4 separate regions of the Homo sapiens genome follow, and regions 2, 3 and 4 are each linked to region 1. The links are contacts of gene promoters, found by promoter capture Hi-C in human tissues and cell types (Jung and others, 2019). All regions are on one chromosome and are shown on one strand. Each heading gives the region's core, a stretch centred on a gene start or on the middle of the fragment in contact. The rest is flanking DNA. Distances are from core to core; before and after follow the strand shown. Region 1 holds the start of RBM24 (RNA binding motif protein 24). Region 2 has its middle 42 kb from the start of NUP153-AS1. Region 3 has its middle 35 kb from the start of FAM8A1. Region 4 overlaps CAP2 (cyclase associated actin cytoskeleton regulatory protein 2).

Region 1 (7,350 bases), core at 3,271-5,770:
AATGAAATAAACCAAACAAGGTCTTGGGGCTGGTTAATAACTGCCTGGACTAGACTCTAGGTCTCCTGTCTTGAGATCCAGGACTATTTCCATCACCCGGTGCCCTCTGCCCAGCCCACAAGCAACAGCATTAGAATGTATTTGTCATCCAGAGAGAGGTCATTCAATACATTTGGAGAGTATCATCAGTTCCCTAAAAATAACTTGGCAGCTCAGAAGCTCACTGTTTAAAAGACTTAAAACCAAAGGACACCCTGAGTTTAAAATGTGAACAAGCACACAGTGGGTTTAAAATGTTTGCATTCTCTTTCTTGCCTTTCGGGTTTACATAATAGAAATTAAAGTGTGCATACACTTAAAGCTACTTCTACACAGGCAGGGTGAAATTACTGGCACGGTGACACTGGCAATGAACATTTTTGTCCCTCGACACTTTGATTTTTGCCCTTGCCTGTCCCTCAAATAATCCTGCTCTGCTTTCTGTTTTTTGGATTTTCAGTGTAAAAGAGACATTATGACTTTAATGACTGAATAACAGGCACAAATTTGCATTTCACTTTATTTACCAGCTTAGCTGTGGTTTAATGCAACATGAATAGAATTCCCCCAGAGGTGAGTCTGAGCTGAACTGACTAGGTTTTTGACTGCCAATTCTTCTGCACACTAAAATAGCAGCATAACCTATCACACACATTTGTTATCTGTTACTGAGAGAGAATTAGCAACCCACCCAAAGAAACAGAAATACAGCTGATGACGGGACTTCTCAAAAGGCCAGAAAACCTGTTGGTTTTACATCAAAATGCTCACACAGATACTCAAAAGAAGATAAAATATTTCCAAACCACCAAAACAAAAGACTTCACTGAAGCCATATTTTTGTTTAAAAAAAAAAAACAAAAAAGTGCCCAGCCTCAAAAAAAAAAAAAAAGTGCCCACTTTATAGGTCGTCAATTCTAATCAAGAATGCATTTCTTCCCATCAAGCTTGAAGGCAGGCATCTTTAAAACATCAATTTTTTTTCAGTAAATATTTCTTTAGTGCCAAGTATATGTAGAACCCTCTGAAGGGTTTTAATAACCAGCAGGAGATCCAGTGACACCTAAGAGTGTCACCCTGCTCTCAGGTGGCTTATTGTCCAAAGCAATATTATCTCTGGGGTACAAAGCCCAAAAGAGTGCTTCTCAATCTTCATGAAATATTTCTCTCTTTTTTCAAAATTATTCTAAAAGGCTGTGAGCCTGAAGTTGATTTCCATGATTAATTTAAGAGGCAAGGGGAGAAGAGAAGACAGTTATACATGAATGTGAAACTTGTGAGTTTGGTTCTGGCCTTTATAGTCAGATAAAGATTTTGAACAAAGTGGACAATAATTTACAGTAAGTAATAAAATAATATTGATCTTGCCATGGAGTAGGAACCAAAACTTCAGGCCCATCCATATGTACTAATTTGGAGATGACAACCTTGTGGAACCTATTTATAACTTTTACAGTATTTTATGGTTCTTTCTTTCCAAAGAAGCACACATTATATTGCACAAGGCCTGTGAATATACAAGTATTCTCTGCCAAAAGCAGCTGACAAAGCAAAAGGATTATCCAAGCATTGTTTTTCAAACCTGAATTTGTAATGAGTAATTGTACAGAAATATTCGGTACTTAACCTTGAAACCTTGAATTCAGAAAAACTTTATGGCCCCAAGGCTACATGATTTGATGGCTCAGATTCGTAAATCCACCAAGAATGAGGATCTGGCCATTTTAACTGTGTCCACCTTGGTGCAAATGTAAAACAAAACCCACAGGGGCAGCAATGATGCCTACCACAGTGCTTGCCTGGGCGAAGGGAAGGGGGTCTTGATGAAAGTTTGTTGAGATGAACTGGGTATGAATTCTGGCTTCCGTTTAAATACGTTTGGAAAATAAGGAATCTCCATCCCTCTTAACCTTTGTTCTCAGTGACTCACGTAATACCAGTGTATTAGTAATGTTTTAATTATCCCTGGAATTCAAAATTAGGGACCGTCCAGGCAAAGTTTCAGGCAAAGTGATCAAGTATTTACTGTTCCCTTGAAAGAATAAAAACACTGCAGTCAGGGGTTGCACGGGATGGGAGGGACAATGACAAGGAGGCGTCTTATTTCCAGAAGCTGAGTTCTAGGACACAAGTATTCCAACCCGGGATCAGAATTTCCTTGTAGATCTCACCACTTTACCTAGTGAACATCCTAGCTGCTGGCTACACTCCCAGACACCCTCCTTCCCTGATATTATCACAGTCCTCTCCAGGGTGGGCTCCCAATCCAGGTAGGAAGAAAGGCGAGACAGCCAAAGGCGCCCTTCTAAGGCTTCTCTCTAAGCAGCTTCCCTTCACAAAAGGGTTTTGCCTGAGCCTCATCTACGTACAGTAATTCTTAAATGACACAAGATGGATGTTGAATATTAAAAAACACGCCTCTTCTCTTTCCCCGCCTGCTTTGTTTTTCTAACTTTTAAAAATTATCTTTCATCATACCAGCACAGAGAGTCGTTTTTGAACCTGTCCTTTAACTTAAGTAATGAAGAGAGGGTGTTTACAATTTCACTTTCTGGCTCTCATCTGTCTGTAAAATTCTTTATTATTTTTTTAATCGGGTGAAAAAAATGTTTTTAACTTTAATAGATTTCTGATTTCTCTATATCTCCCACTGGGGGTTCAAACTTAAAGAAACCAGTGACGTCAAAAAGTCAACCTCATGAGGAAGTCAGCAAGATGAAAAACGGAATTTAATGTTTTGCACAAGAATATTTGCATTCCCATTAGCCTTTGCAAATGCAACATTTCTCACCCTCTTGGGTTGACTGCAAAGGTGTCCTGGAGAGAAACAGAGTATGCACCTCTCTAACGGTTAACATACTGAATTGTTTTAATGGAATAAATGGTGCGGCTCAGGGGCGATTAATGTAGGGACTGTAGACTCCCGTAGAAAGGACTTAAAAGGCAATTGTGCACCAACAATGGTGGATGAAACCTTCTGCTCACATCAAATATTTTCATCCAAACCTCAAGTATGACTGATTGATTTTAAGGCCTAATTGAATGAATTCTCAATTAAAAGAAGTTGCAAAAAGCTGATGTAAAGTAATAAATATATATGGGGTGCCCTATGTTCTACAAATGCTTTCAGGTCTGCTGGTAGAAACCACTGGTTATGCAATAAGTTGATTTCAAAAATTATACCTTTTACATTTACATCCAGATAAAAACAGATGAGGTCAAGCCACTAAACATTCTTGTAATTCAAAGAGAAAGAAATAGATTAATTCTTTGTTTAGGGAAAAAAAAAAAAAAAGAACGACTTATGCTAAGACATCTGTACCAATCTTCCTGAATAACTAAGTTAGGGAGGAAAGACAAATTTGGTGACTGTGGGGGCTAAAATACTAACTTATGGTCCTCTGAAATAGAAGGCGGTGCCTGATGGACATAGGTATCTCCGGTTACTTGGTTTGGCTGGGCGGTAGCAATTAAAGCTAATGGTTTTCCCAACTACACCCAAGCGCTAGATCTTTCTTTTCCTTCTGGCTCTACCTCTCTGATACTTCCCCGCACTGGCTTTTTGGGGCCAAAGAAAGTTGGGGCCCTCCTTCTCACTCTTCAGACCCCAGGGTGTCCAGCTTGGGTTTCGTTCGGCCGAGCTCCTTGACCCCCCGCGCCCGGGAGGGGATTGGCCTCTCAGCGAATCGCCCCAGGCCTCTGGGGACCCCAGTTCGCCAGTCCAGGTCGCCGGCCCTGTCACCGAGGCCTAACCCAAAAAGCTCGCGTCGTCCCCTCTGGAAAGCAACGCAGCTTCCTCCTTGGGCACAGTCCCCGCACCCTGGGTCCCGGCTGGTGCTGCGCCGGGTCCCTAAGACTTTGACTGGTTAGAGCAGGCGACGCCGAGAGCCAGGCCGCCTACAGGCGTCTCCAGCCCTACCCCATCGCCGGCTACAGAGCGGGAGCCCCGAGCCCCAGCGCCGCGCCGCGCGGGGAGAGAAGCAGCTGTTCCCAACAGCTGGGGGGCGGCGGCGCCCGGCGCCCCAGGTGCTGCCGCGGCCAATCGCAGGCGTCCGGCCCGCCCCCCTCCCCAGCCGGGCGTCGACCCCCGGCCCGCGGGGGAAGGGAGCAGAGAGGTGGAGAGCTGTCCTCGGCACTCGTCTTCCAGATCCCACGGCGGGAGGGACAGACCAGAGCCGAAGCTGCGCGGAGTTCCTCGCCCCTGGCCCCGCCGCCGCGCCCCCCGCCCGCTTCGGCGCTCGGACGCTCTTCCCGCGGACCCTCCCCACACCCCACCCAAGGCACCTGATTCCTAAGGAAGAAAAATCTACCTCTAAAGCACCCGCTTCTTCGCTTGAGAACTACCCTCTCTTTTCATTTTTGGCCTCCCCGCCGGGTGAGTGGAAACCGCTTGCACATTCTATAGAACCCGATTCTAATCCAGACGATCCGGAGAATTTGTACGGTGACCGGCAGGGGGGGCGGGAGGAGAGAGCGAAGTCAAGTCTCCAGGGCCGCTGGCGACTTCGGAAGCCGCGCGCCCGGCGCTCTCGGCCGCCCCCGGCCGCTCGCCCCCGCCGCGCCGCCGCCCTCGCCCCCGGGCTCGCCCTTGGCCCCCGGCGGCCGCGAAAGGGTGCGGGAGACGCGGAGCCGGAGGAGGAGGCGCAGCCGCTGCCCGAGCCGCAGCCGCAGCCGGAGCCCGAGCCGCGGGGCGGGTGCGAAGATGCACACGACCCAGAAGGACACGACGTACACCAAGATCTTCGTCGGGGGGCTGCCCTACCACACCACCGACGCCAGCCTGCGCAAGTACTTCGAGGTCTTCGGCGAGATCGAGGAGGCGGTGGTCATCACCGACCGGCAGACGGGCAAGTCCCGGGGCTATGGATTTGTAAGTTGCACGGACTGGGGGTGACGGGGAGGGACGGAGTGGCGGCTGACCCCGGGGATCGGGAGCTTGGAGTGAGGGGCTCGGCGTGACCCGTGAGGAGCCCCGCGGGTAGAGCGGCGCTGCCCCTTCGCTCCGGGGTGAACTGAAACTTTGCTAGGGGAGAGGGTCGGCGCCAGCCTCGCGGGGTTCGGAGAAGACCCAGCGCTGTGCGAGGTCGGGGGCCGGGCAGGGCAGAGCAGGGGTGAAAGGAGAGACCTGTAATGACGGCGGGATTTGGGGTGCGGAGGGTTGCGAGGGAGGGGCCGCAACCCTGAACAATTGCATTCCCGGGCTGGATGCCGGTTGTTAAGCGCGCTGTTGCTTTGTAAAAATGCGTGTGTTCTGGTGTTTTGGCTGGGGCAGGGAGGGGACACCCCACGAGGTCTGGGGCTGTTGCCCTTGTGTCATCCCCCCGCCTTTTAACTGCAAAGGTAGGTTCTTTTAAATCATGATCCTAGGGCTCTTTGCCGAACTGAAACAGAGCATATTAAGCTTCCTTCCTAGAGATTTAAGCGTGCAAATTCAGCTGCCGAAGAGCAGGGAGCCCCAGAGTAGGACAATAGCTATTGTCGTTGGGGAGTGTTTTCGAGGTTGGGAGCGTTGGGCGGATGTAAGGCTGGACTTTCTTTAAAGCAAACGGTGCCTCTGAGGCTGAGTAGGGACCTGGGGGGCGGGGGATTCGGGGGAAGGAGGATCTAGAGTTCCAAGAATTTAGGCTTCCAAATCTCGGCTAGGCCCTACTAACACCCTTAAGATTTCGGCGGTGGGGTGGGGGGAGGCAGGGTTAGAGGGTTTCTTTCTTTTTTCCTTCGTCTACCCGCCCCCCCCCCCCACGCCCCCGCCCGCCTGTTAAAAATGGGAGATCAAGGAGGAGGGTCCAGCCAAAAGAAGCAAAGAATAGAAAAAAAGTTTGATCTCAGTTTTATCATGAATGACTTCTCCATTGTGATTCTTGATTTCCTTCATGGGTTAATTTAGAGGTTATGTATGTATGTCTGTGTGTGTCTGTTGCTAAGGTCACCATGGCTGACCGGGCTGCTGCCGAAAGGGCCTGCAAGGATCCCAATCCCATCATTGATGGCAGAAAGGCCAACGTGAACCTGGCATACTTAGGAGCAAAACCAAGGATCATGCAACCAGGTGAGAAATGTCTGTCTCCCCTACCCCCCTCTCCAAGAACCCCCCATTTATGGGTGGGATGATTCTCTAATTTAGAAGACATTGTCTCTTTCTGTAGATGTGTTTAGTAAACTTGAACCATGGCTTGTTATTCTACCAAGGCATTAAACATAAATGAGAGTTGTAAATACTCCTCTCAAGGCTTGAAATGTACCTGTGTGCAAAAATGGATCTTGGGGGTCGTGCAGGAAGAAGAGTTAGTCATGTCTCACCTGTTTCCTATATGGCATACATTTGTAGTCTGCTCTCAATTTTCCAATTTTTAGCCACCTGTAGATAATTCACATGTGGATTATATAGGCCAAATTTGTCGACTTCAGCTAATATACTTCCCTACTTAGTGGTGTCTCTCCTTTTAGCACCAGTTGCACTGTGCTCAGAGCAGGCAGTCTGACTTGAACACAGACCCAAGGGAAGCATTAAGGGGTAGGGGCGATGTCCAAATGGTAAAGGTTTTGTTTTTTTTTGAGATGGAGTTTCGTTCTTGTTGCCCAGGCTGGAGTGCAATGACGCGATCTAGGCTCACTGCAACCTCCGCCTCCTGGGTTCAAGTGATTGTCCTGCCTCAGCCTCCCAAGTAGCTGGGATTACAGGAATGTGTCACCACACCCAGCTAATTTTGTATTTTTAGTAGAGACGGGGTTTCACTGTGTTGGTCAGGCTGGTCTTGAACTCCTGACCTCAGGTGATCCACCCGCCTTGGCCTCCTAAAGTGCTGGGATTACAGGCGTGAGCCACCGCGCCTGGCCCAAAATGGTAAACCTTCAACATAAAATCACAGAGTATTAGCAATCAAAGAAAACAGAAATTGCACCTACTCAAGAACCCTATGCTACAGACAAAGAAACTGATGCTTAGAGATGAGAAATATTTTACTTAAGTCATGTAGCTATTAGTTGCCAAAAGGGAGCAGTTTTTTGTCTATGGGAAAACAATACCTCTTGGATTATTTACAACACTGCCCTTTGCATTAGCACAAATAGTTGAGAGTTGATTTTTAAGCAAATATAATATTTTCTTTGGTCAGGCAACTTTACTTGTAAAGTTTGATTAAATCATATACTCTTCACTCCTAAGCCTTTCCATCTGAAATTTTGGGAAGAGGTTGACACTTCCATCCAAACGGGTTTAAAAGGAAACTAGGTTGTCAAGAAAATGAGTGTTTGTGCAAATATTCATGGGCGTTAAAAAAATTTGTCTAATACATTGTGGGTATGTAGTAT
Region 2 (7,350 bases), core at 1,833-4,332, 470 kb after region 1:
CTTGCCAGTCCCGCGCCCTGCGCTCGCACTCCTCAGCCTTTGGGTGGTCGAATGGACTGGGCGCCGTGGAGCAGGGGGTGGCACTCGTAGGGGAGGCTCGGCCCCATAGCAGCTCATGGAGCGGGTGGGAGGCTCAGGCATGGCGGGCTGCAGGTCCCGAGCTCTGCCCTGTGAGAAGGCAGTTAAGGCCCGGCGAGAAATCGAGCGCAGCGCCGGTGGGCTGGCACTGCTGGGGGATCCAGTACACCCTCCGTAGCCGCTGGTCCGGGTGCTAAGTCACTCATTCCCCCGGGCCGGCAGAGCTGGCCGGCTGCTCCGAGTGCGGGGCCCGCCAAGCCCGCGCCCACCCGGAACTCCAGCTGGTCCGCAAGCGCCGCACGCAGTCCCGGTTCCCGCTCGCGCCTCTCCCTCCACACCTCCCTGCAAGCTGAGGGAGCCGGCTCCACCCTCGGCCAGCCCAGAAAGGGGCTCCCACAGTGCAGCGGTGGGCTAAAGGGCTCAAGTGCCGCCAAAGTGGGAGTCCAGGCAGAGGAGGCGCCGAGAGCGAGTGAGGGCTGTGAGGACTGCCAGCACGCTGTCACCTCTCATTAGGATTACAGGCATGAGCCCATTAAAGATATTAAAGGCTGGGTGTGGTAATTCACGTCTGTAATCCCAGCACTTTGGGAGGTAGAAGTGGGTGGATCACTTGAGCCTAGGAGTTCAAGACCAGCCTGGGCAACATGATGAAACTCTGTCTCTACAAAAAATACAAAAATTAGCTGGGCATGGTGGCATGGGCCTATGGTCTCAGCTACTTGGTAGGCTGAGGTGGCAGGATTACTTAAGCCCAGAAGGTCAAGATTGCAGTGAGCCACGATCATGCCACTGTACTCCAGCCTGGGCAAGAGAGTGGGACCCTGTCTAAAAAAAAAATAATAATAAAAAAGATCTTAAAGTAGTACAGTGAGTCTGGAGAGAGGGTATGATCAGTAAGCAGGCCCAAAAAGGTAGCTTGGAGTCAAATCAAGCTGGACTTAAGATGGTTTTAATGGAACTAGAGCTTGCCTTTTTTTTTTTTTTGAGGCAGAGTCTCGCTCTGTCACCCAGGCTGGAGTGCAGTGGCACAATGTCAGCTCACTGCAACCTCCGCCTCTCGGGTTCAAACGATTCTCCTGCCTCAGCCTCCTGAGTGGCTTGCATTATAGGCATCTGCCACCATGCCCAGCTAATTTTTTTGTAGTTTTAGTAGAAATGAGATTTCACCATGTTGGCCAGGTTGGTCTTGAACTCCTGATCTCAAGTGATCTGCCTGCCTTGGCCTCCCAAAGTGCTGGGATTAAAAGTGTGAGCCACCCCGCCCTGCCTAGAGCTTGCCTTTGAAGTCAGATAGACTCATGGCCTGGTGCTGCCACTCACCTACTGTCTGACTTTGAGCAATTTTCTCAAACTTCTTTTCTTCATTTATAAAATGGATATGAAAATGTTTATCTTACAAATTGTTCCAATTTGTAAGATGAGATAATGCATGTAAAAGACATTCTACATAGTAGACATATATGCAGAATGGGAAAAGTGAGAGGTTAGAGGCAGGGAGATTAGGTTTCGAAACTGATAATAAAGTTGGCTATTGATGAAAATGAATCATAACATATAATTAAGCTGTGCCAGGACTGGGCAAGTTGGCTCAGGCCTGTAATCCCAGCACTTTAGGAGGCCAAGGCAGGTGGATCATGAGGTCAGGAGTTCGAGACCAGCCTGGCCAATATGATGAAATCCTGTCTCTACTAAAAATACAAAAATTAGTCGGGTGTGGCGGTGCGCGCCTGTAGTCCCAGCTACTCGGGAGGCTGAGGGAGGAGAATCGTTTGAACACAGGAGGTGGGGGTTACAGTGAGCCAAGATCATGCCACTGCACTCCAGCCTGGGTGACAGAGCGAGACTTTGCCTCAAAAAAAAAAAAAAAAGCTGTGTCTGGTTTGTTTTTCCTGCATAGTAAGGAAGAAGGAGGAAGAAGTCAAAGAACAGGTGAATTGAAACAATATAGGGGTAGAAAGTATCTCTGAGAGAAAAGCTACTTACCTTTACTGAGCACTTGTCCAAAACATCAATTATCTTGCCATTCAAAGATGTTCTTTCTCCTGCATTCCTAATATCAGCTAATGCCATTAGTCCCAACACCCTAAGCTAGTATTCATCCCCCATATTTCAGCAGTCACTATAAAACATATCTCTAATATGTCACTTCCATTCTGCCTTCATCAAGCCAATTCAAACCCATATCTTCTAGGTTACTGTGAAAGCTTTTTTTTTTAAATTTTTATTTCTAAAATTATGTATGTTTGAGACAGGGTCTTGCTCTCTCACTCAGGCTGGAGTGCAGTAGCACAATCTCACTACAGCTCACTGCAGCCTGAGCCTCCTGGGCTCAAGTGATCCTCCCACCTCAGCGAGACTTCGTCTCAAAAAACAAACAAACACAAAAAAACCCCACATGGTTTTAACTCATTTAACACACACACACACACACACACACACACACACACGACTAAACTTCACAGTTAATTTCTTAGGTTTTTTTTTTTTTTTTTGAGACGGAGTCTAGCTCTGTCGCCTAGGCTGGGGTGCAGTGGTGTGACCTTGGCTCACTGCAACCTCTGCCTCCAGGGTTAAAGCAATTCTCTGCCTCAGCCTCCTGAGTAGCTGGGATTCCAGGCACCCACCACCACGCCTGGCTAATTTTTGTATTTCTGGTAGAGATGGGGTTTTACCATCTTGGCCAGTCTGGTCTTGAACTCCTGACCTTGTGATCCACCTGCTTCGGCCTCCCAAAGTGCTAGGATTACAGGCATGAGCCACTGCGCCCGGCCAATTTCTTAGTTTTTACCTAATTCCCTTTTTCTGTTCCAGGATCCCATGTAGGCTGTCACACTACATTTAATTGTCCTGTCTTCTTAGGCTCCTCCTGGCTGTGATGGTATCTCAGACTTTACTTGATTTTGATGTCTGACATGTTTGAGGAGTTTCCTAAGGTGTATTGTAAGCCTGATGTTTTTCTCATAATTAGACTGGGGTTATGGGTTTGGGGAGGAAAATCACATTGGTGAAGTGCCATTTGTATCACATGGTGTCAATGGTACATACTGTCTACATGACTTATCACTGTTGATGTTGACTTTGATCACCTGAAGTCGTGTTTGTCAAGTTTCTCTACTACAAAGTTACATTTTCCCTTTTCCATACTTTTTAGAAGGAAGTCACTGTGCGGCACACCTCATGCTTTATGAGTGAGGAGTGATGCTCCCTTTCATATTATATTTTTACTTTTTTTTTTTTTTTTTTGAGACGGAGTCTTGCTCTGTTGCCCAGGCTGGAGTGCGGTGGCGCAATCTCGGCTCACTGCAAGCTCCGCCTCCCGGGTTCACGCCATTCTCCTGCGTCAGCCTCCTGAGTAGCTGGGACTACAGGCGCCCGCCACCACGCCTGGCTAATTTGTTTTGTATTTTTAGTAGAGACGGGGTTTCACTGTGTTAGTCAGGATGGTCTTGATCTCCTGACCTTGTGATCCGCCCACAGTGCTGGGATTACAGGCGTGAGCCGCCACGCCCGGCTATTTTTTTTTCTTTAGACGGAGCCTTGCTCTTGTTCAGGCTGGAGTGCAATGGTGCAATCTCAGCTCACTGCAACCTCCGCCTCCTGGGTTCAAGCCATTCTCCTGCGTCAGCCTCCCGAGTAGCTGGGATTACAGGCACGTACCACCATGCCTGGCTAATTTTTGTATTTTTAGTAGAGACGGTTTCACCATGTTGGCCAGGCTGGTCTCAAACTCCTGACCTCAGGTGATTCGCCCGCCTTGGTCTCCCAAAGTGCTGGGATTACAGGCATGAGCCACCGCACCCGGCCTTTACTACATTTTAGAATAAGCTTATTTTCTCAAGTTTGTGTGTGTTTTAAAGAATGATCTCACCTGGCTGGGCGCAGTGGCTCACGCCTGTAATCCCAGCGCTTTGGGAGGCCGAGGCGGGTGGATCACTTGAGCCCAGGAGTTGAAGACTAACCTGGCCCAAATGGTGAAACCCTGTGTCTACTAAAAATACAAAAAATTAGCCTGGCATGGTGACACACGTCTGTAATCCCAGCTACTTGGGAGGCTGCGGCATGAGAATCGCTTGAACACAAGAGGTGGAGGTTGTAGTGAGCCAAGATCGTGCCACTGCACTCCAGCCTGGGCAACAGAGTGAAGCTGTGTCTCAAAAAAAAAGAATGATCTTTCCTGTCTATATACTGAATCTGTGTCAGGGATGCCCCAATCTTTAGTCAAGAGCTACATTTTATCACCTTAAAGGCTGGAGATCACCAGATAAGGGGGAAACAAACAGCAAAGTATCAGAGCTGCCCAGAAAGGAGGAATGCCACTCCTGCAGTTTTTCCTTTTCTGCTGAAAATTCAAAACTAAGTCAAGTATAACTGTGGCAGCCACTGTACAGTTCTATGCAGTTCTTCTGAACAAGATTTTGAGACTGACTTTTTTTTTTTTTTTTGAGACAGAGTCTCGCTCTGTCACCCAGGCTGGAGTGCAGTGGCGTGATCCTGGCTCACTGCAATCTCCGCCTCCTGGGTTCAAGCGATTCTTCTGCTTCTGCCTCCCGAGAAGCTGGGACTACAGGCGCCCATCACCACGCCTGGCTAATTTTTGTATTTTTGTATTTTTTTTTTTTTGAGACGGAGTCTCGCTCTGTCGCCCAGGCTGGAGGGCAGTGGCGCAATCTCAGCTCACTACAAGCTCTGCCTCCCGGGTTCACGCCATTCTCCTGCTTCAGCCTCCCAAGTACCTGGGACTACAGGTGCCCACAACCACGCCCAGCTAATTTTTTGTATTTTTACTGGAGACGGGATTTCACCGTGTTAGCCAGGATGGTCTCGATCTCCTGACCTCGTGATCCCCCGCCTCGGCCTTCCAAAGTGCTGGGATTACAGGCGTGAGCCACCGCGCCCGGCTTATTTATTTATTTATTTATTTTGAGGCAGAGTCTCACTCTGTTGCCAGGCTGGAGTGCAGTGACGCAATGTCAGCTCACTGCAACCTTCAACTCCCGGGTTCAAGTGCTTCTCCTGCCTTAGCCTCCCGAGTAGCTGGGACTACAGGCTTGTGCCACCAAGCCCAGCTAATTTTTTTGTATTTTTAGTAGAGATGGGGTTTCACCACGTTGGCCAGGATGGTCTCAATCTCCTAACTTCATGATCCGCCCGCCTTGGCCTCCCAAAGTGCTGGGATTACAGGTGTGAGCTACACGCCCCGCCTAAGTTTTCTATCTTTAGTAGAGATGGGGTTTCAAAATGTTAGCCAGGCTTGTCTTGAACTCCTGACCTCAATGATCCACCCACCTCGGCCTCCCAAAGTGCTGGGATTACAGGCATGAGCCACCGCGCCCGGCTGAGACTGACAGATTCTTATGCAGACAGTTTTCCTGGATTTGAAGCCTAGCTCCTTCCCTTTCTGGTCTTTGTGATCTTTTTTTTTTTTTTTTTTTTTTTTTTTGACAGTCTCACTCTGTTGCCCAGGCTGGAGTGCAGTGGCACGATCTAGGCTTACTGCAACCTCCACCTCCTGGGTTTAAGCGATTCTCCTGCCTCAGCCTCCTGAGTAGCTGGGATTACAGGCGTGTGCCACCACACCCAGCTAATTTTTGTATTTTTCGTAGAGATGGGGTTTCACCATGTTGGCCAGGCTGGTTATGAACTCCTGATCTCGGCTTCCCAAAGTGCTGGGATTACAGGTGTGAGCCACCGTGCCTGGCCCTTTGTGATCTTCTGTTGTTGTTGTTTTTTGAGATGGAGTCTTGCTCTGTCACCCAGGCTGGAGTGCAGTGGCACGATCTCGGCTCACTGCAAGCTCTGCCTTCCGGGTTCATGCCATTCTCTCGCCTCAGCCTCCCAAGTAGCTGGGACTACAGGCGCCCACCACCATGCCTGGCTAATTTTTTGTATTTTTTAGTAGAGATGGGGTTTCACCGTGTTAGCCAGGATGGTCTCGATCTCCTGACCTCGTGCTCCCAAAGTGCTGGGATTACAGGCGTGAACCACGGTGCCCGGCCTTGTTGTTGTTTTTTTGTAAGCTCATATTAAGTGATACTCTGTAATCCTGACAGATCCTTAACCCCTTTGAGACACAATTTCCGCATCTGTAAAATGGGGTTAATGACAGTGTCTACCTCACAGGGCTGTTGGAATGATTATGTGAGCAATGCATATTAAATCCCTTACATTTAATAAATAGCAATGCAGTGGAAATATTTTTTATATATTTTTTTGAGACAGAATCTTACTCTGCTGCCCAGGCTGGAGTGCAGTGGTACCATCTTGGCTCACAGCAACCTCTGCCTCCCGGGTTCAAGTGATTTTCTCACCTCAGCCTCCCGAGTAGCTGGGATTACAGGCGTGGGCCACCCCACCTGGCTAATTTTTGTGTTTTTAGTAGAGATAGGGTTTCATTATGTTGGCCAGGCTGGTCTCAAACTCCTGACCTCAAGTGATCCACCCACCTCCGCCTCCAAAGTGCTGGGATTACAGGCGTAAGTCACTGTGCCTGGCTTGAGACTCCATCTCTTAGAAAAAAAAAAAAAAAATCAGGGCTGGGCATCGTGACACCTGTGATCCCAGCACTTTATGAGGTTGTGGCAGGAATACTGCTTGAGCCCAGGAGTTCAAGACTAGCCTGAGGAACATAGCGAGGCCTTATCTCTATTACGACAAAAAGAAAAGAAAAGAAAAAAAAAAAAAAAAAGCTTGGAAGTCAGTATTTTGTTATAAGCCAGAGTGTAGAGAGTATGGCTCTGTGACCTAAGGGTAGTTCCTCTGAGACAAGAAAGGAAGGAGAAAGGAGAAATTAGGGAGGGGGAAGAGAAAAATGGGGCAGAGAGAATCAGGAGGTTGAGACTGGGGTAAGGATGTATCTTAGTCCATAAGAGGAGACCCAGTGCTCTACACCTTGGGCTGAGGTGAGGAGTTAGATATGAGCAACACTTTTTGAGGCTCAGATAGTTTGAGAGAGAAATTGAGACAGCATAGGCTGGTGCTTTGCTTCTTCCTATTGGCACCCTTCCAGTCTTGTTTTGACAGAATGGAAGGAATAGATAGGCTCCAGAAAACATTCAGTTGGTCCTCTTTGAGGCATGGATGAGTTCCTGAAAGACCCATGAGTAATGCAAGAAGAAAGGTGAAATTTTTTTGAGATGGAGTCTTGGTCTTGTCACTCAGGCTGGAGTACAATAGCGCGATCTTGGCTCACTGCAACCTCCGCCTCCCGGGTTCAAGTCATTCTCCTGCCTCAGCCTCCCGAGTAGCTGGAATTACAGGTGCCTACCATCACAC
Region 3 (7,350 bases), core at 2,989-5,488, 280 kb after region 1:
AAGTCTCATGTCCTATGAAGATAAAATAGGGGGAGGAAGGAAGAAAACAACAACCAGAGCAATCCTGGAAAATCGATATAGGCCACATTACTCTGAAGTCCATACCGCAGTAAGCAGGTATGAAAGTGGCTTATGTATGTAAATAGGTTACAGTTATTTTCTTCCGAGATTTAAGTTGTCTAGCTTTAGTTTGCAGGGCTTTACGAAAGCACAGCTTAGTTTTCAGTGACTTCAAATTAGAAAAATTGGGGGAAAAAAAAGAAAAAAATTGAAAACATTATTTTGAAGACTTGTAGCCAAGAAAAATTAGAATTCTGTCCAAATTGTAGAAAATAATAAAAATTGAAAAACATTAGGCAAGACTAGAATCTAACAAAAGTATATTATAGTTTTTAAAACATAATTTTTCTCTCTCCTGTTTCTCATTTTTACTAAAGACAAACCATGGTAGGACTGGTTTGCTTTATTATACTTGGCCTAATTATTTGTATACAGCACAGCAAGAATGATTATTTTTTACATAGACTTTTAAATTGGCCTTGATGGAATGTTGTTCCATAGAAGGAATCCCAGATAAGACTTTTTTAAAGCCAAGCCCAGCCATGGATTTGTATCATCAAATACTTATGAGTTGGGTGAATTCCTCTCCACCTGAGGTTCCAGTATAAACTTGGGGCTCCTGGGCCTGTCAGAAAGTGGCATTCTTTACTTAGCACAGGTCAGGAACCCTGTACAGGGACTGTGTAGACAAAGAAATGAGGCCTGTTTTTCAAGGGGCTTTTATTGGCTCCATAAGTCAAGTTTGATTTCTTAAAGGAAAGCACACCATTCCAGACAAAGCCTTGGTAAAATAACCAGTTTCTCCAATTGTGTCCTATTACAAATGAAAACAGATTCTTACTGCACTTACGCAAATAACTGTATTGTCATAAGTTAAGAATACTCACAAATAGTTGCCAAATTCTGTAGAAATCAGGTAGAGAGAAACAAATATGCTCCAAATTTTGTTCATGGAAGTATACTTTACTCAATTGTTAAAAGCTGTAAATAGCTTAAAGGAAAGTTTTCTCGACTCTGAAAAACAAACAAAAAAAGGTTCAGCAATGTTTTAAGTAAAAAGTTAAAAAGATTACTGCAGACTTCTATTAGTTTATCTATGCAGTCAATTCTGTTCTGCTTGATATTTATGAACATTTCAGCTTTCCATGAGTCCTGAAAGTTGTTCTTCTCTCCTGATGTTACAATCTTCAAAGTTATCAGAAACCTGCATTCAAGAACACCTGTTCGAGTCTTATAGCTGATTATAAAACCACCTTCTAGAGAGGACCAAAACAAAACAATTTTCTGTGGATGACAAAAAGTGTTAAGGCAGCCATAGTCAAAGTCACAATTTACAAGGAAATTTGTTACCTCTGTGGCACACAATAATTTAACTTAACAATTACTGATAACATACATTAAGTCATGTCAGAATTTTAGGAGTTTCCCATTATTTTGGAACACATACCAATAACATAGTTATACAAATACAGCCCAAAGAAAACCAAACACCATTTTATATTTGGCAATGCTTCCTGTATAATTTTTGTACCAAATAAACCAAATATGTCATTTTTTAGACTTTAGGGAACCTATTAAGAATATCTTAAAGGATTAATTAGGTCAGTAAAAGACATAATTTATAATTTGATTTTGGAAGTTTGTCAAATACCAAAGGTTTAAAACATTTTATATAGGTTGGGCACGGTAGCTCATGCCTGTAATCCCAGCATTTTGGGAGGCCAAGGAGGGCAGATCACAAGGTCAGGAGATTGAGACCATCCTGGCTAACATGGTAAAACTCTGTCTCTACTAAAAATACAAAAAATTAGCCAGGTGTGGTGACATGCGCCTGTAGTCCCAGGTACTCGGGAGGCTGAGGCAGGAGAATCGCTTGAACCCAGGAGGTGGAGGTTGCAGTGAGCCGAGATCATGCCACTGCACTCCAGCCTGGGCAACAGAGCAAGATTCCGTCTCAAAAAAAAAAAAATTTGATATTACAAAATAGGATCACAGGTCATTGTAAAATAAGTCATTCATTTAATCAAAGTGATAACTCAAGGACTTCAAAACAAGGCAAAAACTTTCATTCTTTGACAGAGGAGACTTAATTTTTCAAACAATAAGCCCTCATAAATACAGCATGAAGCCAATTAAATTTGTTGTCCAAAATTTTATAAACAATCTATAAAAGTTTCATCTGATCTGATCATAACATATAACTTCCATAAACCTTTATACCCTTTATAATCCTTATTAAGGAGTAAGTTAATGCCAAGAAAACTTTGTTAATCTGACACAGGGGCCCATATGCTGGTCTTACATCAGTGTGCCTTTCACATTAATTATTAATCTATAGAGAAACTGAACTTATTTTATGTCTCAAAATTGGCCCTTACAATCTCTTATGACCACCTCTTCTGCAATATGCCCTGGGCCTTGAAGAGTTGAATAGCTTTAATTTCTGGCCCTGTGTCTCAAGAATGCAGTTTATTTTGATTGGCATCTTCTACTGGGCCTAAAGACAAGGCTTTAATTGCCATCAGTGTTTAAGATTTAGCAGGATTTGCTGTTCTTTTTAGACCCAGGAGTCAAAGCCCTGTGACTCAATGTCACAAAGACTTTAAAAGCACATACAGGAGACACAAGGAGGTAACAACCTTAATTACCTTAATTTAAAAAAAAAGTGTTTAAATCTCTGTTTTTCCTAAGCAAACCAAACTTAATAATAGTGGCATAAGAATTATTTCAATAAAACATAAAATCTGTTAGGCCAGTTACCAAAAGACAAAAGAAAAGACCTTCTACAGTGCACAGAATATAATGCTGGAAGAAAACGTTTCCTTTAGATCTTTAAGAAAACATTGTTACCATCAGGCCAAAACAAACAGAACAGAACTCAAGGGGGAAAAAAAAAGACTCATATGAGCCGAAAATGAGTTGAAGGAGAGTGTTACTATTTCGTGGCTTTTAAAAGTGAAGAGAACACCCAAACTGGTGACATGCAATAAAAGTTGAACTTTGGGTTAAAATTTTAAAAATTAAAATCTCTTATAATTTATTGCATAAGGTCAGGCACAGTGACTCACACCTGTAATCCCAGCACTTTGGGAGGCCAAGGCGGGTGGATCATGAGGTCAGGAGATTGAGACCATCCTGGCTAACACAGTGAAACCCTGTCTACTAAAAATACAAAAAATTACCTGGTTATGGTGGCGGGTGCCTGTAGTCCCAGCTACTCAGGAGGCTGAGGCAGGAGAATGGCAACCCAGGAGGCGGAGCTTGCAGTGAGCCGAGATCACACCACTGCACTCCAGCCTGGGTGACGGAGCGAGACTCTGTCTCAAAAAAAAAAAAAAAGATAATAATAATAATAATTTATTGCATAAATCAACCCCTTAAGAAAACTTCATTGTTCTAACCAATTATACATGTAGAAGTGTTTTTTTTAACATCAAACCCAATCCCTAGAAAGACCATTATAGTTTCCCCTTAATCATAGACAACTTGATCATATGAAAGTTTTTGGTGTTTTTGTTTTCTTTTTTTCTTTTTATTTTGAGACAGAGTCTTGCTCTTGTCTCCCAGGCTAGAGTGTAATGGCACAATCTCAGCTCACTGCAACCTCTGCTTCCTGGGTTCAAGTGATTCTCCTGCCTCAGCCTCCCAAGTAGCTGAGATTAAGGCACGTGTTACCACGCCTGGCTAATTTGTATATTTTTAGTAGAGATGGTTGCCATGTTGGCCAGGCTGGTCTCAAACTCCTGACCTCAGGTGTTTGACCTCCGCCCACCTTGGCTTCCTAGAGTGCTGGGATTACAGGCATGAGCCACTGTGCTGGGCCTGGTGTTTTTTTTAAATACATCTTCTTACTGTGACTTTCACAGAACATTCATGACATGCTTGGGCTTTCTGGTTTGTCCTGAACATGTCTCTTTCTTAAACAACCAGTCATTTTACTCTAGGGCTAAATTTACCACACAAAATTCTTTCTCATATGAAATTATTACTCTTTAAACTTTCTTACCAAAAAAAAAAAAAATCTTTATATTTATAACTTTTGTTACATCTCTTTTATTTCCTGGTTCTTTTTACCTTGTTTTATACATGACCTTTAAATAAGCTTTGAATTAGACAAAAATTGTTCACCTTTTTAAAAAGAAACACTTTTGTTAAGAAAGAATGTTTTCTGGCCAGGCGCAGTGGCTCACACCTGTAATCCCAGTACTTTGGGAGGACGAGGCAGGTGGATCACTAGGTCAAGAGATTAAGACCATCCCTGCCAACATGGTGAAAGCCGGTCTCTACTAAAATTATAAAAATTAGCTGGGTGTGGTGGTGCATGCCTGTAGTCCCAGCTACTCAGGAGGCTGAAGCAGGAGAATCACTTGAACCCAGGCAGTGGAGGTTGCAGTGTGCTAAGATCATGCCAGTGCACTCCAGCCTGATGACAGAGCAAGACTCCTTCTCAAAAAAAAAATGTTTTCTTACAAATATATTTTTATTGAAAAATAACCAAATAATGAAATATCTCTTATTTAATTTAATATAACTTTAAATTCTAAAGTATGATGAGTTTTTCTGCAAGTATTTATCCTATTACATTTACCTAATTATTTTATTTTAATCATTTACCTAGATTATGTATAAAAACTGTAATTTCATTATTTAAAGTTATAGAACCACCATAACTTTGCAAAATTATAACTGCGACAGTGAAAAAGATTTGTCCTAACTGACTCCATCTTGCTTCTAACCTCCAAGCTGTCCTTGTTCATTCCTGGGTGTAGGCTGAACTAACTTTGGGAGGAACTTAGTTTATAGTTTAGCTTTGGAACAAAGATGATGACAGTCCTTTCTCAAAACCAACCTTAATGCCTGTGGACTAGACTGCCTAAAGCCACAAGATTAGAAGTTATGGTAGTCTGACTAAATTCAAGATGTTGCTATTTTTATTAAACCTGTGTCAATATCTTATTTATTAAATATTACACAAGCAAAGATCATTCTGTCTTGGGCTGGATTTACAGTTTTGTAACCCCTGTGCCAAATTTTGACACCTTACAGTATTTGGCAGGGATAAGTATGAAATTGCTTGATTAACAAATGCAAACAAAAATGTATGCTGGCAATTCTTAAGACATTTCTAAAATTACCTATAATTTTCAAGCTAGCTTATTTATTAAAGATTTTATTTAAGTTATGTAAACTTGAAAAAGCATTTGACTAGTCTTTTTTTGTGTGATAAACTATTTGATTCAAGTGCTTTTATTTTCTTAAGCCAATTAACTAGAGCTCTTTTATATATTTTCAGTTGTGAAACATTGTGTACACAACACATAAATACATAGATGTATTAGGCATGCCAATAGAAGTACATCTTACAGATTTATGAAAACCTTTTTTTTTTCCTATCTTAGACTTTCAGATTCTTGATAACCTGTTTCACAACTCTAGGCAGTTGTCAGCTAAATAGCCTTAAATTTTCATATTAAAGGAAACAACTCAGGTGCAAATCAAATGGCAAAATTTACCTCATAAGGTACAGAGAGAAAAAGTCTGGTGATGCTAGAGGGAGATTAAAAATCTAATCATTTATTTGATCAAATCAAACATAAAGTTGCAGAAATCTATCATAGGATTGTATAAGGAGACCAATTTTATTTAGATAGGGACTACCTATCTTTTAAGTGGATCTCTGAGCTCTGGGCAGAGCCCACACTGAATCCTGGGTCTACAAAAAGGAAGAATTATTGAGGTTAGACCATGTGATGCTTTTACAGTGACTTAAAAAAAAAACTTTTTTAAGCAAAGACATTTCTAAGTGTCTAAACCACACACTTTCTTAAAATCCAAGAGTAACCTCTGTTGCAATAACTATTTTAGTCAAAAAACCAAAAAAAAACCAACAAAAAAAACAGGTAACACAATATAAAAGTAAGGAGCTTAAGAACTGAGACGAACTTGGCCGGGCGTGGTGGCTCACACCTGTAATCCCAGCATTTTGGGATCCTGAGGTGGGCAGATCACGAGGTCAGGAGATCAAGACCATCTTGACCAACGTGGTGAAACCCCATCTCTACTAAAATACAAAAAATTAGCCAGGCGTGCTGGCACACACTGGTAGTCCCAGCTACTGATGAGGTTGAGGCAGGGGAATCACTTGAACGCGGGAGGCAGAGGTTGCAGTGAGCCACTGCACTCCAGCCTGGGTGACAGAGTGAGACTCGGTCTCAAAAAAAAAAACAAAAACAAAAACAAAAAAACTGAGACGAACTTATCAGTTTACATTCTTGGGGTTCCATAAGGAAAAACAGGTTTCTCCCCCAAAGGGAGTCTGGCGGCGCCTTCTCCATTTTCTTTAAGGAACCTGAGGCTGTTATAAACTATTTTAGGTCCCCCATGCAGCAGACGGTGCAAGAAAAAGGAGAGACAGCATAAGTAAATGAAGAAACCAGAATTCAGCCAACTGAGAAGAAAAAACTTTTGCTCAAAAAAAACACAAGGTCTTAGGAGAAAAACAAAAACAAAAACATGAAAGCCTTTTAAATACAAACACACACATATGCACACACACACACACACACACACACACACATCTTGGATGTTAGTTTTTAATTAAGCTGACTTTTAACCATTGAGTTCCTTTAGAAAAAATCTTTTTAAAATCTCATTACCATATTTCAGCTAGGACAAATTGCTGCTATTTCAGAAGTACAGCCACTGCTCTTTTAGTTTGGCCTGGCTAGCAAAAAAAAAGTGGACTTGTAAATAAAGCTCCTTATTAGTCAAAATCAAAAATCTTTCCTCTTTTTTTTTTCCTTCTGCTAGTCATTTTCTTCCCCCAACCACACCACCTTTTTTGTGTGTGTGGTGGGGTGGTGGAATTTAGCCACTTCAGAGGCCTTGTTCCCCAAAATTAGGAGGAACTTCCTTCAGATTTGATCAAGTCGGATAGAGTTGATCAAACCCAATGGGAAAAAGACCAAAACAACAACAAAAAACAGGTAAGCAAAACAAATGATCGCACAACTTACATCATTACTGAGCACTCTAATCGTAAGGAGAAATTAAGACCAGCTGATTGTTAATTTTAACTTTAACTGAGACAAAGCCCAATGCAGTTACTTACCTAGGGATGGTTCTCAGGCTGTAGACTGCTCTCTACCACCCTAGAAGCAGGAAAAAAAACCCTCATCTTCCCTGTTGAAAGCAAGCTCAAACTCCATAAAGGAGTTAACTGCCTTCCATCATCACGGAAGCAGGACAAACTTGCCTTCTTTGTGGTGGAAACAAGTAAAACTCCAAAAA
Region 4 (7,350 bases), core at 1,245-3,744, 260 kb after region 1:
GCCGAGATCATGCCACTGCACTCCAGCCTGGGCAACAGAACAAGACTCCATCTCAAAATTAAATAAAAGTAAAACAGTATATAGGCCAAGTTTGTGGTATATGTGTGTTTCTATCCTACCAGTTTTAAGTTCTGTGAAAATATCACAGATATACAATATTTTGGATATTTTCCAAAATATTAAAACTGGTACTTTGGGAGGCCAGGGCAGGAGGATTACTTAAAGCCAGGAGTTCAAGACCAGCCTGGGCAACATAGTGAGACCTCATCTCTCAAAAAAAAAAAAAATTAAAAATTAGCCAGTTAGAGTGGCACATGCCTGTTGTCCCAGCTATTCAGGAGGCTAAGCCAGGAGAATCGCTTGCGCCCAGGAGTTTGGGGCTGCAGTGAGCTATGTTCACGCCACTGCACACAGCCTGGGCAGTAGAGTGAGACCCTGTCTCCTTAAAAAAAAGCAAAACTGAACTAAAGCAAGTCTCTCTCTTGTCTATCACGTCTTATTGCCATTTGAATTTGTTAGGCTTTCATACTGAAAACAAAGGTTGTGCTTTACATAGCAGTGAAAATAAGAATAACCATAGCTCTTGGATCAGGAAGAATCTAATTTTCAGTTGGTTCACTAACAGCCAACATTTGATGAAAAGTCATGTGGATCCTGGACCCTCATTACCTTCGGGTTTGACAAGCATCCCGGTCACATATGCTCCTTGTTTGGGGGTCAGTTTGCAGCAGGCATATTTGGAAAATCAGGTCCAGAGAGTTTCTGTATCTCTCTCTTTCACTGCTTAAAAAGGTTCGGAAACATCCAATCACCACTGAATATTTTTACCCTTCCCCACACCCCATTGGTGGTCACAGTTTCCAGTGTCTCAAAAGAGCTAATCGTTTTATCAATTGGATCACTTTTTTCTTGTGATTCTAAATTGGCCAAGGCCCAGTGTCATTTAGATCCTGAGCCTTGGACCTGGACTTGGGAGTATGGCTCGTTTGCCTCTGATTTGGCAGCAGGGCTCATTGCCGCACAGATCCTACTGATGGGGCCACACAGCTAAGTCATGTTCCACTTTCCCAAGCTGGAGCTGCCATGGTTCAGATCCTCCCAAACAGACCCATGATGCACAGGTGTGCCCTCTGGGAGCCTTTGCTCAGGCTTCAACCCCACTCTCTCATTGGCAGCAGGTTTCGACTCTCTCGGGCAAAATCCCAGCAAGGGCGCAGTCTCAATGCAATGCAATGCCCTGTCTTCTGTCTTCTCAGGGTCCTGTAGCATCCACAGTATCAGCGTTTTCTGTCCTCTCCTCTGGGCCTGGCCTTCCTCCACCCCCTCCTCCTCTGCCTCCTCCAGGGCCACCTCCACTTTTCGAGAATGAAGGCAAAAAAGAGGAATCTTCTCCTTCACGCTCAGCTTTATTTGCCCAACTTAACCAGGGAGAAGCAATTACAAAAGGTGAGAGAGAAAAGAAGACCTTGAAGCTGCCTCCCTTTCCCTCTGGCTCCCAGACACAAAAGAGCCGCTGGAGCCCCAGTGATGGATACATCACTCCATCCCTGCCTCCAGCATGCAGGGAGAGGGGGAACTGGTGCTGGGAAGACAGGAGCCTGCCATGTTCCTTATGTCCATGCAGACGGGCTCAGGGGGTCACTGTGTAGACCAGAAAGAAGTATTCAGAGACTCTGGGTTCTAAATGGACCACTGTGCTGCATCCTTGCTTTAGACCCCAGTACTTCCACATCATTGTCCACAACCAAGGCATCAAGATCAAGTGAAATAAAAATAAAAATGGCAGGCTGGGCATGGTGGCTCACACCTGTAATCACAGCACTTTGGGAGGCCAAGGCAGGCCTATTGCTTGAGCCCAGGAGTTCAAGACCAGCCTGGGCAACATAGTGAGACCCCATCTTTACCAAAAATAAACAGAAATTAGCTGGGCATTGTGGCACACACCTGCAGTTCTAGCTACTAAGGAATCTGAGGTGGGAGGATCGCTTGAGCCCAGGAGGTGGGGGCTGCGGTGAGCTGAGATCGCACCACTGCACTCCAGCCTGGGTGACAGAGTGAGACCTTGTCTCTAAATAAATAAAAGTGGCAAACATTAGCTCCTCTGTCCTGAAGCAGTGTACAGGCTTGTCAAAGAATTATATCCCACTATACTGGGCTTGGAGCTAAGAATCCAAAATTCTAAATTTTTCTCTGGCTCCAACTGGTTCTGCTGTGCCTTGTGAAACTCATTTGCAAAGTAAAGGAATGGATTCGTAAAGTCAATTCCATATCCTGATATATACTCACTGGAATGCCCTAACCTTTTAGGCTGTGTCTGGAGAATGATTTAGCCGTAAGAGAAGAAGTAAGACATGATCCTTTTTCGTGAGGTGGTTTGCTCTTTGCAGAATTTTTATCTATCATTTTATCTCCCAACAGAAGAGGTTCCTCAAATTAAAAAAAAAAAAAAAAATACTTGGCTGGTGCAGTGGCTCACGCCTGTAATCCCAGCACTTTGGGAGGCCAAGGAGGGTGGATCACCTGAGGTCAGGAGTTCAAAGACCAGCGTGGCCAACATGGTGAAACCCCATCTCTACTAAAAATACAAAAATTAGCTAAGCGTGTGGTGGTGCATGCCTGTAATCCCAGCTACTTGGGAGGCTGAGGCAGGAGAATCGCTTGAACCCAGGAGGCAGAGGTTGCAGTGAGCCGAGATCACGCCACTGCACTCCAGCCTAGGTGACAGAGCGAGACTCCATTTAAAAAACAACAACAACAACAACAACTTACAGTGCTTCTGTCAACTCTCAACTTGTACAGGACTCAGCTCCTGCATCCTGACTTGGAGAAAGCACTAGACTGTTTTGAAAGTGGCCTTACCAAAAGTTCTTGTGCTCTTTATTTACATCATGTTGATCTAGCAAGTTAGAGACATTTCCCTTTGCATAAAATAAATGTGTCCATGTGTGTTGTCCTCCTAGGGCTCCGCCATGTCACAGATGACCAGAAGACATACAAAAATCCCAGCCTGCGGGCTCAAGGAGGGCAAACTCAATCTCCCACCAAAAGTCACACTCCAAGTCCCACATCTCCTAAATCTTATCCTTCTCAAAAACATGCCCCAGTGTTGGAGTTGGAAGGAAAGAAATGGAGAGTGGTAAGTGAAGCATTTTAACCTTTATTTTCCTGACATGCGCCAATGAAAGGACCAACAGCCAAACCATTTACCAAGATCTGAAGGATTTCTTTTTTTTAATTTTTGTATTGGTACATAACATTTGTATATATTTATGGGGTACCTGTGATATTTTGTTACATGCGTAGAATGTGTAATGATCGGCACTTTGGGGGTTTGAGGTGGGAGGATCACCTGAGGTCAGGAGTTCGAGACCAGCCTGGCCAACATGGTGAAACCCTATCTCTACTAAAAATACAAAAATTAGCCGGGCATGGTGGCACGTGCCTGTAATCCCAGCTACTTGAGAGGCTGAGACAGGAGAATCACTTGAACCCGAGAGGTGGAGGTTGCAGCGAGCCGAGATCACGCCACTGCACTCCAGCCTGGGTGACAGAGTGAGACTCTGTCTCAAAAAAAAAGAATGGGTAATGATCAAGTCAGGATATTTAGGGTGTCCATTACCTTGAGTATTTATCATTTCTATGTGATGGAAGCATTTCAAGGCCTCTTTTCTAGCTATTTTGAAATATTTAAGACAGTGTTGTTAACTATATTTACCCTACTCTGCTGTCGAATTAGAATTTATTCCTTCTGACTATATGTTCGTACCCATTAACCACCAAGGTGAAGTGACAGAGGCAAAAACCACTGGCTAGAGTAGAAACCAGGGTGTTTCTGAATGCTTCCATAAACTTTATTTTCACAGGTTCTCATGCATTCTTTTCTTCAACTTTTTAAATTATTTTGTGAGTGGTGGTAAAATAGACGTAGCATAAAATGGACTGTTCACCATGTTTAACTGTCCAGCTCAGTGGCATTAAGTCTGTTCATATGGTTGTGCTGCCATCACCACCACCCACTACAGAACTCTTTTCATCTTGCAGAACCAAAAATCTGTACCCTTAACCAATAGCTCCCTGTTTCTCCCCCTGCACCCCTCCCAGCCCCTGGCAATTACCATTCTACTTTCTGTCTCTATGAATTTAGCTATTCTTTCTATAAGCTTTTAATCAGGCAGCAAGACAGACCGTTAATATATGGAACTGGGAAGTCTGTGCCCCACTCTGATGTGCTGTGAGATGTTTCGTTCAGTCCCATGGATGGAGGGATTGATACCTCTGTACCCTACTGCTGCCACCCCCCACTGCCCGGGCTAAGTGTGTGAGCAGGACATAGACACTTCAAATGGTAATGAAAGCTGGTGTCTCCTGCTGATCTGGAGGGCTTCCCTAAAGATGAAGGACCAAAGTCCCTGGAGAGTTGTCATCGCCTTGAAAACACAAGGGCTTAGACCACTGCTGTGACCCTTCACCAGCCTGTTTGCCCAACTCCTGTTTGACACAGCAGGTTTTGCTGCATCATCAAGTCCAGACTTGGCATCAAGGCCTCAACAAAAAGCTCTCACATCCCTGCTCCAGCCTCCCACCTGCTAGGGTGCCTGATACCTGATGTTTACAAAGAGATACTGACTTGCTTCCAAGAAGTGGTTCCGTTTTTCCCATCCTAACAATGACAGAGTAAGACCTGTGGTTTCATCTATAAGGAGATGGTTCCAAAAGAATATATTGCAAAGCCATACTTCATGCTGAGCTCGTACTAATTTCAGTGTGCAGTGGTTTCTGTTTATATATGCTGATGTTTAATATTTGTATTTGTCTTAATTCTAGGAGTACCAAGAGGACAGGAATGACCTTGTGATTTCAGAGACTGAGCTGAAACAAGTGGCTTACATTTTCAAATGCGAAAAATCAACTATTCAGATAAAAGGGAAAGTAAACTCCATTATAATTGGTAGGGCAGAATTATGGCTCTATGGTTATTATGATGTTTTATAAACAAGCTGTATGTATTTAGTGGAGTTGGTTTTTTGTTGTGTTTTTTCTCCCCACAGACAACTGTAAAAAACTCGGCCTGGTGTTTGACAATGTGGTGGGCATTGTGGAAGTGATCAACTCCCAGGACATTCAAATCCAGGTAAGCAGAGCCTTTCCAACCATGCTGTAATAAGCAGAGCCTTTCCAACCACGCTGTAATAAGCAGAGCCTTTCCAACCACGCTGTAGTAAGCAGCCTTTCCAACCACGCTGTAATAAGCAGCCTTTCCAACCACACTGTAAGCTGCGGCCTTGCACAGACCATCCACTCTGCCTCCAAGAAGCAGCCTTGCAGCCAGTCGCGGTGGCTCACGCCCGTAACCCTAGCACTTTGGGAGGCCGAGGTGGGCGGATCACGAGGTCAGGAGATTGAGACCATCCTGGCTAACACAGTGAAACCCTGTCTCTACTAAAAATACGAAAACAAAATTAGCTGGGCATGGTGGCAGGCGCCTGTAGTCCCAGCTACTCTGGAGGCTGAGGCGGGAGAATGGCGTGAACCCAGGAGGTGGAGCTTGCAGTGAGCGAGCCAAGATCGCGCCACTGCACTCCAGCCTGGGCGACAGAGCAAGACTCCATCTCAAAAAAAAAAAAAAAAAAAAAAGAAGGAGCCTTGCTCCCCCATGGCCACCTAAAATACTCCTATTCTTGTTCCCTCTGGACACAGCTCTATCATCACCTCCTTGGTAGACCCCTCTCTTACTTCTCAGTGTTAGTTCTTTCTTTTCAATCTCTTCTAACAGATCCCATTTTGTGTTTCCATTACTGGCATACCATCTCAATTTCAAGTACAGCTAACTGGCCAGGCATGGTGGCTCACGCCTGTAATCCCAACACTTTGGGAGGCCAAGGCGGGTGGATCACCTGAGGTCAGGAGTTTGAGACCAGCCTAGCTAACATGGTGAAACCCTGTCTATATTGAAAACACAAAAATTAGCCGGGTGGGGTGGTGGGTGCCTGTAATCCCAGCTACTTGGGAGGCTGAGACAGGAGAATCACTTGAACCTGGGAGGCAGAGGTTGCAGTGAACTGAGATTGTGCCACTGCACTCCAGCCTGGGCAACAGAGAGAGACTCTGTCTCAAAAAAAAAAAAAGAAAAGAAAAAAAGGACAGCTATGTAATCTTTATAGCCCCAGAAACTTGCACAGTACCTGCACATAGTAGGCGTCCAGTAAATGTTTGATGGGTATATGATTTGAGTGAATCAACTAATGCATAAATAAAAGTACTGTGAGACTCTCCTAGTATGATTAGCCCCATTCCAAAGAGAACTTTTTTCTCAGGAAAAATTGGTCCTAGATCATGAAGAGGAAAAGTTTTTCTAAAGAATCAGTGAGATCATCAGAAAAACAACTTGAGAAGTAGGGTTGGAGTTGAATTTGCAAAACAGAAGAAAATCTGTGAATTAAAATATATAATAATTTTGATTTAGCCACATGGAATTTTATGATATGCCAAAATCTAAAGGACTTCTTGGTTTTGGCCAATTATAACTTCTATCTTTTTTTTTTTTTGAGACAGAGTCTCGCTCTGTGGCCCAGGCTGGAGTGCAGTGGCCCAGGCCAGGCGCAATCTCGGCACACTACAACCTGCACCTCCCAGGTTCAAGTGATTCTCATATGCCTCAGCCCCCTGAGTAGCTGGGATTACAGGTGACCACCACCATGGCCCAGCTAATTTTTTGAATATTTAATAGAGACAGGGTTTCGCCATATTGGGCAGGCTGGTCTCAAACTCCTGACCTCAAGTGGTCCACCTGCCTCGGCCTCCCAAAGTGCTGGGATTACAGTCATGAGCCACAGCACCCAGCCCCAGTTTAGTATTTCTGATCACTACATTTATCCATTTAATAACACTGCTTTCTCTCCAAACTATTACGCATGCAAATTTTAAGGAGGTTGCTCATCTTCAGAAAAAGCCCGGTACTTCAAGGATGATCATGGTTCATAGAAACCTAATGAGACCACACTTTCTGAAGAGCTATTTTGGATGGTGGGAGTTCCTATGTAAAGAAACATGCTTTTTCCCACTTTACATTATTTTTAATTTTAAAAAACTAGAAGTAACAGCAGTGAAGTAATATTTGATGGCAGAGGTGAGGGTACATGTTTAGCCATAGTCATGCAATCATAGTGTGTCACAGTTGAAAAGTATCTTGGAAAGAATGCAACCTAACACACATACCACAAACACACCTTAATTTTAGAGAGTTTATTTCAAGCTCCCTTTCATTCGTACAGAAATTAAGCTTAGGTAGCAATGGTGAAACCATATATAAGCAGTTAGCATTTTTTTTAATGTAAATACATCACATCTGAA

What was found. The method cuts DNA at HindIII sites, captures the fragments that hold promoters and counts their contacts. A contact is called where the count stands out against the background at its distance.
Region 2: a contact is called between a fragment that was not itself captured here and the fragment with the promoter of RBM24 in region 1, in 2 of the 25 tissues and cell types used here (aorta and liver).
Region 3: a fragment that was not itself captured here is called in contact with the fragment with the promoter of RBM24 in region 1 in 3 of the 25 tissues and cell types used here (IMR-90 fibroblasts, bladder and thymus).
Region 4: a fragment that was not itself captured here is called in contact with the fragment with the promoter of RBM24 in region 1 in 4 of the 25 tissues and cell types used here (H1 embryonic stem cells, IMR-90 fibroblasts, mesendoderm cells and 1 more).

Annotation. Positions count from the first base shown.
Region 1 is chr6:17,276,841-17,284,190 of GRCh38, forward strand. It overlaps RBM24 (RNA binding motif protein 24), which reads left to right and starts at 4,521. Exons shown (of 4, transcript NM_001143942.2): 1 at 4,521-4,909; 2 at 5,965-6,088. The coding sequence starts at 4,742. The HindIII fragment of the contact is 10,579 bases long and covers 1-7,350 here.
Region 2 is chr6:17,745,281-17,752,630 of GRCh38, forward strand. No RefSeq gene overlaps it. Among named protein-coding and RNA genes, the nearest start is that of NUP153-AS1, 42 kb to the left of the region's middle. RefSeq lists an enhancer at 272-772. The HindIII fragment of the contact is 4,502 bases long and covers 832-5,333 here.
Region 3 is chr6:17,561,737-17,569,086 of GRCh38, forward strand. No RefSeq gene overlaps it. Among named protein-coding and RNA genes, the nearest start is that of FAM8A1, 35 kb to the right of the region's middle. The HindIII fragment of the contact is 7,354 bases long and covers 562-7,350 here.
Region 4 is chr6:17,538,013-17,545,362 of GRCh38, forward strand. It overlaps CAP2 (cyclase associated actin cytoskeleton regulatory protein 2), which reads left to right. Exons shown (of 13, transcript NM_006366.3): 8 at 1,257-1,446; 9 at 2,961-3,136; 10 at 4,825-4,948; 11 at 5,049-5,131. Among named protein-coding and RNA genes, the nearest start is that of FAM8A1, 59 kb to the right of the region's middle. The HindIII fragment of the contact is 6,450 bases long and covers 1-5,719 here.